Regions from separate parts of the Homo sapiens genome. Here region 1 is linked to region 2. Evidence: promoter capture Hi-C in human tissues and cell types (Jung and others, 2019). All regions are on one chromosome and are shown on one strand. Each heading gives the region's core, a stretch centred on a gene start or on the middle of the fragment in contact. The rest is flanking DNA. Distances are from core to core; before and after follow the strand shown. Region 1 has its middle 40 kb from the start of CPO. Region 2 holds the start of CPO (carboxypeptidase O).

What was found. Contacts are between HindIII fragments. The study calls those that stand out against the background at their distance.
Region 1: a contact is called between a fragment that was not itself captured here and the fragment with the promoter of CPO in region 2, in 2 of the 25 tissues and cell types used here (bladder and hippocampus).

What each region holds. Positions count from the first base shown.
Region 1 is chr2:206,897,981-206,901,116 of GRCh38, forward strand. No RefSeq gene overlaps it. Among named protein-coding and RNA genes, the nearest start is that of CPO, 40 kb to the right of the region's middle. The HindIII fragment of the contact is 3,919 bases long and covers 1-3,136 here.
Region 2 is chr2:206,937,914-206,940,887 of GRCh38, forward strand. It overlaps CPO (carboxypeptidase O), which reads left to right and starts at 1,605. Exons shown (of 9, transcript NM_173077.3): 1 at 1,605-1,754. The coding sequence starts at 1,687. The HindIII fragment of the contact is 12,088 bases long and covers 1-2,974 here.

The sequences.
Region 1 (3,136 bases), core at 262-2,761, 40 kb before region 2:
TTTTGATCTTTGTTGGTTTAAAGTCTGTTTTATCAGAGACCAGGATTGCAACCCCCATGTTTTTTTTGCTTTCCATTTGCTTGGTAGATCTTCCTCCATCCCTTTATTTTGAGCCTATGTGTGTCTTTGCATGTGAGAGAGATGGGTCTCCTGAATACAGCACACCAATGGGTCTTGACTCATTATCCAATTTGCCATTCTGTGTCTTTTAATTGGGGCATTTAGCCCATTTACATTGAAGGTTAACATTGTTATGTGTGAATTTGGTGCTGTCATCATGATGCTAGCTGGTTATTTCACCCATTAATTAATGCAATTTCTTCATAGTGTCAGTGGTCTTTACAATTTGGTATGTTTTTGCAGTGGCTGGTACCGGTTGTTCCTATCCATATTTAATGCTTCCTTCAGGAGCTCTTGTAAGGCACGCCTGGAGGTGACAAAATCTCTCAGCATTTGCTTGTCTGTAAAGGATTTTATTTCTCCTTTACTTATGAAGCTTAGTTTGGCTGGATATGAAATTCTGGGTTAAAAATTCTTTTCTTTAAGAATGTTGAACATTGGCCCCCACTCTCTTCTGGCTTGTGGGTTTCTGCCGAGAGAGATCCACTGTTAGTCTGATGGGCTTCCCTTTGTGGGTAACTCGACCTTTCTTTCTGGCTGCCCTTAACACTTTTTCCTTCATTTCAACCTTGGTGAATCTGACAATTATGTCTTGGGGTTGATCTTCTCGAGGAGTATGTTTATGGTGTTCTCTGTATTTCCTGAATTTGAATGTTGGCCTGCCTTGCTAGGTTGGGGAAGTTTTTCTGGATAATATCCTGAAGAGTGTTTTCTCACTTGGTTCCATTCTCCCCGTCACTTTCAGGTACACCAATCAAACGTAGATTTGATCTTTTCACATAGTCCCATATTTCTTGGAGGCTTTGTTCATTTCTTTTTACTCTTTTTTCTCCAATCTTGTCATCTCACTTTATTTCATTATTTTGATCTTCAATCACTGATATCCTTTCTTCTGCTTGATCAAATTGGCTACTGAAACTTGTGTATGCTTTACGAAGTTCTCATACTGTGGTTTTCAGCTCATCAGGTCATTTAAGCTCTTCTCTACACTGATTATTCTAGTTAGCCATTCATCTAACCTTTTTTCAAGGTTTTTGGCTTCCTTGCAATGGGTTAGAATATGCTCCTTTAGTTGGAGAAGTTTGTTATTCCCGACCTTCTGAAGCCTACTTCTGTCAGTTCGTCAAACTCATTCTCCATTCAGTTTTGTTCCCTTGCTGGTGAGGAGTTGTGTTCCTTTGGAGGAGAAGAGGCATTCTGGTGTTTGGAATTTTCAGCCTTTCTGCTCTGGTTTCTCCCCATCTTTGTGGTTTTATCTACCTTTGGTCTTTGATGTTGGTGACCTAAGGATGGGGTTTGGTGTGGATGTCCTTTTTGTTGATATTGATGCTATTCTTTTCTGTTTGTTAGTTTTCCTTCTGACATATGGGCCCCTCAGCTGCAGATCTGTTGGAGTTTGCTGGAGGTCCACTCCAGACCCTGGGTGTCACCAGCAGATGCTGCAGAACAGCAAATATTGCTGCCTGATCCTTTCTCTGGAAGCTTCATCCCAGAGGGGCAGCCACCTATGAGGTGTCTGTCAGCCCCTACTGGGAGGTGTCTCCCAGTCAGGCTACACGGGGGTCAGGGACCCACTTGAGGATGCAGTCTGTCCATTATCGGAGTTTGAATGCTGTACTGGGAGAACCACTGCTCTCTTCAGAGCTGTCAGGCAAGGATGTTTAAGTCTGTAGAAGCTGTCTGCTGCCTTTTGTTCAGGTATGTCCTGCCCCCAGAGGTGGAATCTAGAGAGGCAGTAGGCCTTGCTGAGCTACGGTGGGCTCCACCCAGATAGAGCTTCCCTGCTGCTTTGTTTACACTGTGAGCATAGAACCACCTACTCAAGCCTCAGCAATGGTGGCCACCCCTCCCCCTGCCAAGCTCCAGCATCCCAGATCGATCTCAGACTGCTGCACTAGCAGTGAGCAAGGCTCCGTGGGTGTGGTACCTGCTGAGCCAGGCATGGGAGGGGATCTCCTGGTCTGCCAGTTGTGAAGACCATGGGAAAAACACAGTATTTGGGCAGGAGTGTACCACTCCTCCAGGTACAGTCACTCATGGCCTCCCTTGGCTAGGAAAGGGAAATCCCCCTACCCCTTGCACTTCCCGGGTGAGGCAATGCCCTGCCCTGCTTTGGCTCACCCTCTGTGGGCTGCACCCACTGTCCAACCAGTCCCAATGAGATGAACCAGGTACCTCAGTTGGAAATGCAGAAATCGTCCGTCTTCTACATCGATATCACTGGTAGCTGTTCCTGTTTGGCCATCTTGGGAGGAGGGCCAGCATTACCTTTTCTATTTCTGTGAAGAATGTCATTGGTATTTTCATAGGAATTGCATTGATTCTGTAGATTGCTTTAGGTAGTATAGCCATTTTAACAATATTGATTCTTCCAACCCATGATCATGGAATATCTTTCCTTTTCTTTTTGGTGTCCTCTTAAATTTCTTGCATCATGTTTTACATTTTCATTGTAGAGATCTTTCACTTCTTTAGTTAAGTATATTCCTAGGTGTCTTGTTTTATTTGTAGCCACTATAAATGGGATTACTTTCTTGATTTCTTTTTTCTAATTGTTCACTGTTGGCACATAGAAATGTTACTGATTTTTGTATGTTGATTTTGTGTCCTGCAACTTTACTGAATTTGTTTATCCACTGTAATAGATTTTCAGGGTACTCTTTAGTTTTTTCCAAAAATAAGCCATGTCATCTGAAAACAAGCAAAATTTGACTTCTTCTTTTCCAGTCTGGATGCCCTTTATTTCTTTCTCTTGTCAAATTGCTCTAGTTAGGAGTTCCAGTACTATGTTGATAACAGTGGTAGAAGTGGGCATCCTTGTCTTGGTCCAGATCTTAGAGGAAAGGCTTTCAGTTTTTCCCCATTCAGTATGGATCTGTTGTATATGGTTTTTTATCATGTTAAGGTATGTTCCTTCTATATCCAGTTTTTGGGGGGCTTTTATCATGAATGAATGTTGAATTTTATCAAATGCTTTTTCAGCACCAGTTGAAATGATCATATGGTTTTGGCCTTT
Region 2 (2,974 bases), core at 355-2,854:
TGCTTTCCTCATTTGGCTTCTGGGACACAATAGTCACCCATTTTTTAACTACCTCACTGGCTGTTCTTCACAATTCCCTCGCTGGATTCTTCTCTTCTACCAAGTCCTCTAAATGTTAGGTCAGCCCAGGTCTCAGTCTTTGTCTTTCTCTGTCTATACCCACACCCTAGATGAACTCCTCTAGCCCAGTGGCTTTAAACACCATCGTGATATTGTGATACAATAGGAAATACATATTTTGTCTTTGTCCCTGGTTCCTGACACAGAGCTCCTAAAACCCTTGGAATTTCCTCAGTGATAAGATCAATAAAGGTGAAAGGGCCATTTTTGTTATTCATGACGTCCCTTTTGACTATGTCTAAGTTTAAGTGAACAGGTAACTTTTGGAAAGTTTCTAAGGATAGCGGCTGGTTGCCAGGAGAATCAGCCATGTTATTCAGTAATCCCCTCCCATCTCTGGGGAGGAAAGAGGGACTGGAGATTTATTTAATCACCAATGACCAATGATATGATCAATCATACCTATGTAATGAAGTCTTCATAAAAACACAAGGGAACAGAGTTTGGAGAGCCTCTGGGTTGCTAAACACATGGAGGGACTGGGTGGATGGCATGCCTGGAGACAGCATGGAAGCGCTTATCTCCTCTAGTTTTTTAACTGCATTCTCTTTACTTGAAACTGTAACATTTGTTTGTATACTCGTTTATTTTTCTCTCAACTCTACTGTGAGTTCCATAAAAGAAGGGACTCTGCCTTGTTCACCCTTGTATCTTAAGTATCTAGCATAGTGTCTGGTATACAGTGGTACTCATGAGATTTTTGTAGAATGAATACATGAATACAGGGCAGAAGATTTAAACTGGGTCCCTAAATGCCAAGGACTCCATTTAAATACTCTACCTGCTCTGCGCTAAAGTTTGCCTTGCTCAGTTAGACTATTAGCAATGGTCTTAACATGAGTCTTTAATTTTACTGGTCAATGAGATTCAAGCATAACTTGGCTATGTCTGAAAACATGGCGGAGTATCTGACAGAGTCCTTCATGTAAGAGGGGCGTGGGGTAAAATCCACATGGGAAAGGATTGAAACTGTCTTCACTGCTCAGATTTGAAGAGATCTGGGTTTGTTTAAGAAGCTGGTGATGTGGTTCATCAGAAAAAGAGAAGGCATTTGACCCCAATCAAAGCCTTAGATTGAAGGAGGAAGTGGAGATTCTGAATAATGACCATGTCCATTTTGACCAGAGCAGAGTGTTCTTTCTGGTCTCATGAACAGGCTCATGATTCACAAAGACTAGCCTACTATTCCCATTCAACCTGTGTGAGGGGAAGAGCAGGAATGATTGCTCCTGAGCACGAGTGATGGGGGTTCCTAGAAATACTCCAAGGTGACTTTACATAGGGAGGAAATTTATTTCAGGATCTGGTGAAGTTGAGAGCTCACGTAAATTTGGTTTTAGAGAAGAAATGAAATATCAAATGGTACAGCATTTCCCACACTGGAAAAGGTGTTTGAGGACATGAGAGAGTTAATAAAGCAATTGCCCGTGACTTTCTGCTGAGACATCCACTAACTGATTTATCTCATCTTGATTGTGGGAGCCACAGTCTTGATGCATTCATTCTCAAGGACACTTGATCCACTGCCAGAGAGGCCCAGAATTTTCTAACTTACTGTGTGGCAGAATGAAGCCTCTGCTTGAAACCCTTTATCTTTTGGGGATGCTGGTTCCTGGAGGGCTGGGATATGATAGGTGAGTGTAAAGTGGGAAGAGGAACTGATTATTATAATTTAGATTGTCTAAATTGAATGGTTTCTTTTTAAGACCAATGCAGCTGGCTTCTCCTTCCTTGCTACTCATATATACCACCATGAGATGAGAATAATAAAGACCACTGAAATTTATCACTGAATAATCATAATCCTCTAATAATCCTTGAATAAATGAATAAATATCTAGCAAACATTTCCTAACACAATGCATGAGATATACAAATAGACATGTCATGTTTTGTGATTGGAAAAAGAAAATTGTAATACAAATTCTATATCCTTCATTTTCATAGTATCTCATTTGGTAAATCACATTATCCTAATTATTAAGAAAAATGTTAAAATGACCAAATAATTTCACCTAGAGATAAGTACTATTAATGTTTTCAGATAGCTACCTGATTATGTATGCAGCACTATTTCTGAAATATTTCACTTAAATTGTATTACAGAAATTTTCCTATGGCATTAGCAATTTATTTAAAACAGTTGAAATTGCTAATAATATTCTGTCATTTAGTCAATTCCTGCTTTTTCATTTTTACAAATAATGCTGTGATGAGCAACCAGCTACATAATTTTTTTTGCTTTTTGCAAATCTTTAATTATTTCTCTAAGAAGTGGAATTACTGGGTCAGTAACTGAGGAAAATGTAAGGATCTTGCTACACATTGCCCAATTACCCTCTAGAAAGATTACATCAGTCTACACTTCCAATAACAGTGTATGAAAGCACTTTTTAAGTGTTTGGCAAATTGACAAGTAAAAAATACACATTGTTGACTTCCTTTGTATTTTGTTGATTTATAAGAGTAAATATTTTATTACTAATTTTATCATTTTATAAATTGCCCATTAATGTCATTTGCCCATTTTTGTGGTCTCTCCCTACTCTTAATGAATCATAAGTTCTCTAAATACATTCTATTGAAATCTGTGTGTGTGTATGTGTGTGTGTATAGTTTCCATATAAAGTGTGTTTTTCCCTTGTTCATATGCAAATCATTATTTTGCTCATTTAGCATATCTCATGAAGTATATGTGGTTATAATTGGTATTTCCTCTTTTGCTTCATGGTTAAAGAAATCTTGCAATGAACTTGCTCTCACATAACATAGAAACCCACTCCAATTTTTGTCCCACAATAATTGTGTGACCTCAGCTTGTTCCTTATCTTCAGTTCAATTTCAGATACTTACA